3 separate regions of the Homo sapiens genome follow, and all the other regions are linked to region 1. Evidence: promoter capture Hi-C in 16 types of primary human blood cells and fetal thymus (Javierre and others, 2016). All regions are on one chromosome and are shown on one strand. The core of a region is centred on a gene start or on the middle of the fragment in contact, and the rest is flanking DNA. Distances in the headings are between cores, read along the strand shown.

Region 1 (3,192 bases), core at 455-2,954:
GCTGCTCTGGGGCCAAGCCCTGGCTCACTCCTTTTTATTGAAACCTGTGCCATGGAGATAATAGGGGTAGAGAGATCCCTTCTGTGGCAGCCACTGACACACTACAGCTTCGAGGTGGCACATCCCCCTCTCCTGAAGTCCCCTCACCTCCCTGGCGATGAAGTCCCACCCCTGATGGGAGGTGGTGTCAGGAGGCCTTCAGGTGGTCAGGCCAGGAGGGCTCCACCCTGAGGAATGGGACCAGTGCCCTCATAAAACAGACCCCGGAGAGCTCTCCCCAGCCCCTAGCGTGGGGAGATACAGGGAGAGAACTGTCTGCAACCCCGAAGCGGCCCTCACCAGACACAGAGTCGGCCAGGCCTTGGCCTCGGGACACCGGAACCGTTAGAACTGAAGGCTTCTGTGTGAGCCCCCAGGCTGTGGAGTTTTTTGTCATGGCAGCCCCAGGGGGTCACTAGGCTCCCACTTGATTCCAACTCAGCGTGAAGTCACAGCCCTGAGTGCCTTCTGCCTGGGTGCCAGCCCCGGAGCCGGGGAGCGGGGGAGCGGGGGGCGGGGAGGGGAGTGGTGGTGTGCGGGGAGTGCGGGGCGGGCGCAGGGGGTGGGGCACCGCGCTGCGGGCGGGTACTGCGGAGTCAGGCACCAAGGGTCCCTGCCTCCCTCACTGCTGAGCGCGGGCTGCAGGCTGGAATGGCTGGAGAGCCCCAGGGCTCGCCTGGACGCCCAGGGCAGGGTGCTCACGGGAGCATCGAGGGTACACGGGGAGGAACGCCGGGGTTCGGGCGACCCTAGGGGCGACGCACAGAGCTGGGCGCGGCCACTCACCTCGGTGCCTTCTAAGGACCTGGACATCCTGGGCCTTGGCGGCCTGGGGGCTCCATTCCTCCGCGCGCTGAATGGAAGAAATCCCGCCCGGGCATCTCGGAAGGAAAGCCTCGGAGTCCATTCGGCCCTGGAGCCGGATACCAACCGCCAGGGCTTTCCAGGCCCGTCCCGGGAAATGGTTTTCTTAGGCGAGTGCGAGGCGGGCCCCTCGGTTCCGATGCAGGCGCACTAGATGCCGGCAAGGCGGGGACTAGGCCTAGGGGACCTCGGTCGCCTCGAGGTCGCGGAGACCCCAAGGCCACGGAAGGACCCGCGTCTCCGCAGCCCGCACGCCGGGAAGCGTGCAGAGTCCTCGGCGGGGTCCCGAGCCCGCTGGTCAGAGCGTGGAGCGGCGGGGTGGGAGGGACGTGGTCCCCAGAGCGCGGGGCCACCGTAGGGGCCCCTGATGGGGAGGGAGGGAAGGGTCGGCCCGACGGGGTCCCAGCAGTTCCCCGCGCGCAGCCGCTCGGCTCCCTCCCCGTCCAGCTGGGAGCCGCCAGCCCTGGGCGTCCGAAGATAGCGGGTGCCCGGGGCAGCCCCCAGGGGTGCGGGCGAGGGCGCAGGGCGGCCCAGACAGTTCCCGCGTGGAAGGCGCCCGTCTAGATCCGCGACGTCTCGGACCCCCAGGCCCCCGCACCCCGTGTCCGAGGCTCCGGGACGCGCAGGACAGTGGAGCCGTGGCCGCCGCTTGCTCCCAGCCATCTGCGTCCGGGAGGCGGGGGCGGGGGCGCGGCCCGGGGAGGTGAGGAGGAGGAGCCAGGACGCGAGGGCGACCCCGTCGGCGGGAGGGCGGGGCGGGGCGGACCCTGTCTACTGGATAAGAGCCCGAGGCCGAGGCTGAGACCGCCCAGCGCTGCGGAGCGGGAGGGGAGGCTTCGCGGAACGCTCTCGGCGCCAGGACTCGCGTGCAAAGCCCAGGCCCGGGCGGCCAGGTGAGGCCAGCGTCGCTCGCGGCATCGGGGCGCCCCGCTCCTTCCGCAGACCCCGAAGTGGGGCGCAGGGGCGGGGGCCGGGGACCGGGCACAGTCTGGGGTCCCCGCGTCCCGCAGACCGCGCCGTCTCCAAAGTCGCCAACAGTCGCGGGTGCCGAGCGCCCCCCGATAGCGCCACATGGGACCCTGAGGCCGTCCGAGGCGCGAGGAGGGTGCAGGGCTGCCCCTGGCCCCGCTCCAGGCTCAGAACCGGGTGGGCACCTGGTGCAGTCACCGGCTTAGGGGACGCGTGGGTGTCTATGGCTGTGACTCGGGGGTCCTGGTTTCTTCTCGTGGAACTTAACCCTACTAGGGGTGCGGCGCATCCCAGATCCGATCGGAGTGGGTTTTGTACACCGCCGCTCCATCTCGCGGGGGCTTTGTCTGTGTTGGGGGTGGTGGCGGGCGCGGGCTGCGCGCTGGTGCTCTGGGCAGGGCGGGGAGGCCGGGCGAGGACTCGCCAGGCAGCGCCGCTTCTTGTTCTGGGCGCGGTGAGGAAGGACGCTTTCTAACGGGCCACATTTTGCTGTGTAGACCCAAAACTCGCCTCTGAGGCCCCGCGTTCAGGAGCGGGGTCAGGTGGCCCCAGGGCGGCGGCGGCTTGCCGGAGACTCGCGAGCTCCGCACCCGACGCCCTCTCCCAACGCGGCCTCCTGCTCGCGCCGCGGAACCCCTTCGTCGGGTGTTTTACCCACCGGAGGGGTCGTGCCGGTTGAGGTTGTCACCGGGTGCGTGGCATAGCTCGTGATAGCTCATGGGTGAGGTTTTGTGCAAACTTGGATGCAGGGAAAGTTGCCTGTTAGAGCCTCCACCTGCGACCTGCTTCAGTCGTTGTGTGTGTGTGCGCACCTGTGTGAGTGTGAGTGTGTATGTGTGTAAGTGTATGTGCTCGCCTGTGTGTGTGTGAGTGTGTATGTGTGTTTGTGAGTCTGTGTGTGTCTGTGTGTCTGTGTGTGCGTGCGCTCGACTGAAACACGCTGCTGCTGGATCCAAATGACAGAAGTCGCCCTGGCTGGGGCGGTGTAGACGCTCCTGCTCTCCTGCTCAGCGTTGCAGGGGGGTTTATGTAGCCGTTTGGACAGGATTTCCCGGGTTACCCTGCTGGCCCAGGAGCTAGTTCCCGCGATGAAGCCCTGTCCATCCTCCGCCCAGCTCTCTCACGCGGGGTGGTGCCACCTGCCCTAGGTGGATGTGGCTTGTACAGACACTTTTTGAGGAAGCAGTTGTGATGGTTATGTCTAAACTCTCTTTACAGTGGCTGATTTTGCTTATATAAATTTTGCTCTTTATTACTGAGTATAAACAATACAAGCCCAGGCTTGGTGGCTCATGCCTGTCATCTCAGCACTTTGGGAGG
Region 2 (3,591 bases), core at 577-3,076, 520 kb after region 1:
CCCCCAAAGCTGGCATGAACAGCTGTCACTCCCTAAGAAACTGCAGCTTTTTCTGAGGGCGGGAGCAGGTGCTCACCGATTTCCTTCTGTGGCGTGATCCTGAAGGAGCTAAGAGCCCACCACCCCAAAGGCATTGCTCTGGCTTTAAGCTGATCGCCATTCCATGTCTTAAAAGCAGGAGACGAAATTCTCATGTGAAAGATGCCCTCCCCATACGTTTGGGAAAGCATCTTTCTTATCAACAGTGGGAGGCCCAGACCCAGAGAGATTTCAGCATAGCCTCCTTAAAATCACTCTTCTTGGCAGCCTCCGCACACAATGTATTTTTCACAGCTTACTACTCCACCTCCAATTCAGGGTGCACAAAAGTTCTTTGAAAAGGAATGTAGAGGAAAGACTATTCCTATGAACAGTTTGTGAAGTGGGAGATGCTGCCTTCAGCGTAAAACCAGGATGCTTTCCAGAGAACAAAGAGAGGGTCCAGCTTTTATACTGAAAGTTCTCACATAGGTTCGCTTATGCAAATGAAAAATTCAAACTTCCTGTGTTCTGATGGGTTGGTTCAGGGGAGCTCTGGAAGTCCCAAAGTTTAACAGAGGTATGGGATTTCAAGGAACTCCGGGTACCCGTGTGACCTCTAGTCAGCAAACGGTCACTGGGCTCTATGAGGATTTAGGGCCGGTGAGCCACTAGAGATCCACCCATCCACTTCTTGCAAGTCCTGTTTGCTCACATGGGTGTGAGTGTCCAACTCTGTGGCTTTAGGGCATTCCTTCCATGGGAGGCTCTCCCACCATATAGAGCTTCCTTTAAATAAGCTTCCGTGCTTTCCTCCTGTTGATCTTTCTGCGTCAGTTAAATTCTCCGGTGCAGCCTGAGAGTCTGTACACAGGTGATCATATTCACAGGTTAATGTGCTCACAGGTGAATGTACGGGGAGGTGAATGTGTTCACAGGTGAATGTACTGGGATTAAATGTGCTCACAGGTGAATGAATGTACTGGGAGGGGAATCTGTCACAGGTGAATGTACTGGAAGGTGAAGGTGCTCACAGGTGAATGTACTGGGAGATGAAGGTACTCACAGGTGAATGTACTGGGAGGTGAAGGTACTCACAGTGAATGTACGAGTAGGTTATGTGCTCACAGGCGAATGTACTGGGAGGTGAAGGTGCTCACAGGTGAATGTACCAGTAGGTTATGTACTCACAGGTGAATGTACTGGGAGGTGAAGGTGCTCACAGGTGAACACATTTGGAGGTGATGGTGCTCACGGTGGAAGTATTTGGAGTATACCTGTGTATGTCTGTTCTTGCAGTGCTCTAAATACCTGAGAAATCTTACAATCATTGTGGAAGTCTAAGGGGAAGCAGGCACATCTTCACTTGACCAGAGCAGGAGGAGGAGAAAGAGAGGGTAGGTGCCATATGCTTTTTAACAGATCTCATGAGACCTCTATGAGAACATCAGCCAAGGAAGAAATCAGCTCCCACGATCCAATCACCTCCCACCATGCTCCACCTCCAGCTTTGGGGATTACAATTCAACATGAGGTTTGTGTGGGGACACAAATCCAAACCATATCATTTCACCCCTGGCCTCTCCCAAATCTCATGTCCTTCTCATATTGTAAAATAAATCATCCCTTCCCAACTGTCCCCCAAAGTCTTAAGTCAGCACTAACTTAAAAGCCCAAGTCCAAAGTCTCATCTGAGACAAGGCAAATCCCTCCTTCCCCTGAGCCTGTAAAATAAAAAACAAATTAGTTACTTCCAAGATACAATGGAGGCACAGGCACTGAGTAAATGCTCTCATTCCAAGTGGGTTAAATCGGTCGAAAGTGAGGGGCTACAGGCCCAATGCAAGTCTGAAACCTAGCAGGGCAGCCATTAATATATTAAAGCTCTGAAATGATCTCCTTTGACTCCATGTCTGACATCCAGATCATGGTGATGCAAAGGGTGGGCACCCATGGCATTGGGCAGTTCTGCCCCTGTGGCTCTGCAGGGTACAGCTCCCATGGTTGTCTTCACAGGCTGTTGTTGAGTGCCTGCAGCTATTCCAGGTGCATGGTGCAAGCTGTCAGTGGATCTACCATTCTGAGGTCTGCAAGACAGTGGCCCTCCTCTGACAGCTCCACTAGGCAGTGCTGCAGTGAAGACTCTGTGTGGGGGCTCCAACCCCACATTTCTCCTCTGCACTGCCCTAGTAGAGGTTCTGCATGAGGGCTCTGCCCCATACCAGACTTCTGCCTGAACATCCAGGCATTTCCATGTATCTTCTGAAATCTAGGCAGAAGTTCCCAAATCTCAACTCTTGACTTCTGTGCACCTGCAGGCCCCACACCATGTGGAAGTCACCAATGCTTGGGCCTTGCACCCTCTGAAGCCATGGCCCAAGTTGTACCTTGGCCCCTTTTAGCCACAGCTGGAGCTGGAGCAGCTGGGACACAGGGCACCATGTCCTGAGACTGTACAGAGCTAGCTGGGCTCTGGGCCTGGCCCATGAAACCATTTTTCCCTCCTAGGTCTCTGAGCCTGTGATGGGTAGGGCTGCTGTGAAGATCTCTGACATGCCCTGAAGACATTTTCCCATTGTCTTGGTTATTAACATTTGGCTCCTCTTTACTTATGCTATACAAATTTCTGCAGCAGGCTTGAATTTCTCCTTAGAAAATGGGTTTTTCTTTTTCTACAACAAGGCTGGGCTGCAAATTTCCCAAACTTTTATGCTCTGCTTCCCTTTTAAATACAAGTTCCAGTTTCAGATAATCTCTTTCTTCACACATATGAGTGTACACTTTTAGAAACAGCCAGATCACCTCTTGAAAGCTTTATTGCTTAAAAATTTCTTCTTCCAGATACCCTAAATCATCTCTCTCAAGTTCAAAGTTCCATAGATCTCTAGGGCAGGGGCAAAATGTCACCAAATTCTTTGCTAACGCATAACAAAAGTGACTTTTTCTCTAGTTTCCAATAAGTTCCTCATCTCCATCTGCGATCACCTCAGCCTGGACTTCATTGTCCATATCATTATTCAGCATTTGGGTCACAACAATTTAACAAATCCCTAAGAAATTCCAAACTTTCCCTTATCTTCCTGTCTTCATCTGAGCCCTCCACACTCTTCCAACCTTTACCTGTTACCCAGTTCCAAAGTCACTTCCATATTTTCAGGTATCACTACAGCAATGCCCACTCCTAGGTACCAATTTTCTGTATTAGCCATTCTCCCATTGCTATAAAGAACTGCCTGAGACTGGTTTATTTATTTATTTATTTAGAGATGGAGTTTTGCTCTTGTTGCCCAGGCTGGAGTACAGTAGCACGATCTTGGCTCACTGCAACCTCTGCCTCCTGGGTTCAAGTGATTCTCCTGCCTCAGCCTCCTGAGTAGCTGGGATTACAGGCGTCCGCTATCACCCCTGGCTAATTTTTTGTATTTTTAGTAGAGACAGGGTTTCATCATGTTGGCCAGGCTGGTCTCGAACTCCTGACCTCAGGTGATCCACCCGCCTCGGCCTCCCAAAGTGCTGGGATTACAGGCTACGGCCACCACGCCCGGCCAAGACTGGATAATTTATAAAGAAAAG
Region 3 (3,317 bases), core at 242-2,741, 540 kb after region 1:
CTCAGTGGGCTCATACCCCATACTAGAAGAGGCAGAGGCCAGCACTCTTCTTGCACGCCTGCCTGCCAAGCGTCCCCTAGCATGATGTGGGCGGCAAGCCACCCAGGTGCCGAGGCAAGAGACCGAGGGCACGAGCTGTTCCAGTATAATAAAATAAATAAAATAAGAATAATTATACTAGATATAGATCTTAGATATGATTATATATGAATATTAATCATTAATTTGTAGCAATTACTCTTTATTCCAATATTATAATAATCCTTGCTCTACAATCATAACCTAGGAAAAACCAGGCCATACAGAGATAGGAGCTGAGGGGACATAGTGAGAAGTGACTAGAAGACAAGAGTGCGAGCCTTCTGTTATGCCTGGACAGGGCCACCAGAGGGCTCCTTGGTCTAGCAGTAATGCCAGCGTCTGGGAAGAAGCCCGCTGCCAAGCTGACCGTGGTCTAATGGTAGCGTCAGTGTCAAGGAAAAACACCTGCTACTTAGCAGACCGGGAAAGGGAGTCTCCCTTTCCCCCGGGGAGTTTAGAGAAGACTCTACCCCTCCACCTCTTGTGGAGGGCCTGACATTAGTCAGACCCGCCCGCAGTCATCCAGAGGCCTGTCTCCCTGTGATGCTGTGCTTCAGTGGTCATGCTCCTAGTCCGCCTTCATGTTCCATCCTGTACACCTGGCTCTGCCTTTTAGCTAGCAGTAGCAAATTAGTGAAAGTACTAAAAGTCTCTGATATGCAGAAATAATGGTGTAAGCCGTCTCTCTGTTTCTCTTCTCTCTCTCTGCCTCAGCTGCCAGGCAGGGAAGGGTCCCCTGTCCAGTGGACACGTGACCCACGTGACCTTACCTATCAGTGGAGATGGCTCACACTCCTTACCCTGCCCCTTTGTCTTGTATCCAATATATATCAGCGCAGCCTGGCATTCGGGGCCACTACCGGTCTCCGCGTCTTGGTGGTAGTGGTCCCCCAGGCCCAGCTGTCTTTTATCTCTTTGTCTTGTGTCTTTATTTCTACACTCTCTCGTCTTTGCACATGGGGAGAAAACTCACCAACCCTGTGGGGCTGGACCCTACAAAAGATGCCTCACAGAAGCTGCGAGGTGACCAATATGGAAAAAGGAAAGCATCTAACAGAAAATGGAGACATACAACTCTAATTTTCTGCAGGTATTTTCAAGAATTAAAGAGGAAATACGTAACTGGTTCCAAACAGAAACAACTTATTTCACTAATTAAAACACCTGCTGCTTACTCTGACTGTGCTATGAGGGCAGTATGCGGGGCCTGTCTGCTCTTTAAAAGAACATTGTGTTTTAAGGTCACTTTGTCACGCAATCTTAACTGACTTAAAGAAGCCAAGTACCCTTCAAGCTTCTATTTAACACTTGGCTACAGTTTCATACTCTCGAGTCCACTCAATTCCCGTGTCCCCATTCTACCCGGTGATATTGACAACAAAACAAAACAAAACCAAACAACAAACCATCAGTATTTTCTCCTGAGAAGAACCAGACAGAATTTCTTTAAAATATGGCTTTTTCAGTTTACTCCTCACAAAGTAAAGCTCTGAGTACTACAAGCCTAATTTATAAGTTAAGCTTTATCATAGGAATGTCTGTAGGAAAAAATAGTCTACATAAGGTTTAGTATTATCCACGTTTGGGGCATCTGAGGATGTCTTGGAATGTGGCCCCCCACAGGAAGACTTGATTAAGTGCCGAGTAATCAATGCCCCAGGGGCCGCGCGCGGTGGCTCAAGCCTGTAATCCCAGCACTTTGGGAGGCTGAGGCGGGCGGATCACCTGAGGTCAGGAGTTTGAGACCAGCCTGGTCAACGTGGTGAAACCCCGTCTCTACTAAAAATACAAAACTTAGCTGGGTGTGGTGGCGCATGCCTGTAATCCCAGCTACTCGGGAGGCTGAGGTAGGAGAGTTGCTGGAACCTGGGAGGAACCCAGGAAGTGGAGGTTGCAGTGAGCCGAGATCGGGCCACTGCACTCCAGCCTGGTCGACAGCGAGACTCTGTCTCAAAAACAAAAACAAACAAACAAACAAAAAATGTCCCAAGTGTCATGAGCTGGATCTGCTTCACAGAGAGGGGACATTCTAGGACAGCTGTGGCTCCTTCAGAAAACAAAGAGCCGTAACTCCTTGCAGAAGGACGAAGGTACAAGTAAAGGCTAAATTTCATGCCACTTATCTGGTCAAATAAAAGCCTGCATAATTTACCGTGGAGCAGCACCACCCGGTTCCAGGTGATGAGGTTGCTGTTGACGTTCTTGTCTGAAAACAGTAAAGTTGTCATCACATAATCGAGGAGCTGATAGAGAAAAAGAAAAGAGCTTGACAAAGATACCAACAAGGCAAAGGTCCCCAAGAAATGTGCCCTCCCCCAGGGCTTAATCCTACATGAGAAGAGGGAGCACAGGGAGCGAGGCCGCCTCCTAAGAGATCATCACCTCCAAACGCTTTCATTTCAGAAGAGAAGGTGCTTCCAAAAGGGAAAAGGAAAAACACTGGCTATTACTATTATAAATATAAGAAGAGCAACAAAATGATCACTTTTATTTAAAGTGCCAACATTAAACAAAACCACTAAGGGGTTTGTTTATCAAGTAATGAGTAAGCTCCTTCCCTAGAATGATACAGCAGTTATTATTCGCAAAATAACAACAGCCACAATGCAGAGGAGCAGTCTGAGTGATAGTCTCAGACTATCAATGCAGAGGACAGCTGAGTGATAGTCTTCTAGCCAGCTGCTGGCATGGGAAAGACCCTTCCCGTTGAAGAGGGTGCAGGGGTTAAGACACACCGGCCTTTCCTTTGTGCGGACCAGGCTTGCTCACCTTCCCTCCTCCCATCTCCAGAGGGTTTAATTCTCTAAGTTGCCTTCACGTTCTCCCTTTCCCTCTTCTCCCTCAGGGAGCTCCTCAGAGACCAGCTCTACTCTGGAGCAATACTAGAGGATAGATGTCCAGGACAAGGGCTGCCAGCAGACAGGGGCTCCCAAAAACCCATCTGCATCAAGTTGCTCAGGGGTGTTGGAGAGCAAAACAGTAATGGTTCCTCTTCAAATAACAGGGCATTCTGGGAAAAGGCACAGCAACTTACATGGGATTTGACTTCCACATCGTATACCAAGCTGTCCCAAAGCCCATGGAATTCAGCTGTGACAGAATTAAACAAAGACCTGATTTCAGGAAGGCAAGCAATTACAGCCACCCCCAGTCAGTCTCCCCTGAGCCTAAGCCTGAGCTTCCCATTGTGCTGCTCCAGGCAAGACTATGATTCTGATTACAGGAAAGTATAAATT

What was found. Contacts are between HindIII fragments. The CHiCAGO score rates a contact against its expected background, and 5 or more counts as called.
Region 2: a fragment that was not itself captured here is called in contact with the fragment with the promoter of SLC6A3 in region 1 in 2 of 17 cell types (M1 macrophages and naive CD8 T cells); the score reaches 6.1 in M1 macrophages.
Region 3: a contact is called between a fragment that was not itself captured here and the fragment with the promoter of SLC6A3 in region 1, in 5 of 17 cell types (M1 macrophages, non-activated CD4 T cells, total CD8 T cells and 2 more). The highest score is 6.2, in M1 macrophages.

Annotation. Positions count from the first base shown.
Region 1 is chr5:1,443,952-1,447,143 of GRCh38, reverse strand. SLC6A3 (solute carrier family 6 member 3) reads left to right here and starts at 1,704. Exons shown (of 15, transcript NM_001044.5): 1 at 1,704-1,796. RefSeq lists an enhancer at 567-1,066. The HindIII fragment of the contact is 13,596 bases long and covers 1-3,192 here.
Region 2 is chr5:928,279-931,869 of GRCh38, reverse strand. No RefSeq gene overlaps it. Among named protein-coding and RNA genes, the nearest start is that of TRIP13, 37 kb to the right of the region's middle. RefSeq lists a silencer at 2,209-2,385. The HindIII fragment of the contact is 2,012 bases long and covers 821-2,832 here.
Region 3 is chr5:900,348-903,664 of GRCh38, reverse strand. It overlaps TRIP13 (thyroid hormone receptor interactor 13), which reads right to left. Exons shown (of 13, transcript NM_004237.4): 4 at 3,116-3,171; 5 at 2,234-2,324. Among named protein-coding and RNA genes, the nearest start is that of TRIP13, 9.1 kb to the right of the region's middle. RefSeq lists a silencer at 277-571. The HindIII fragment of the contact is 227 bases long and covers 1,378-1,604 here.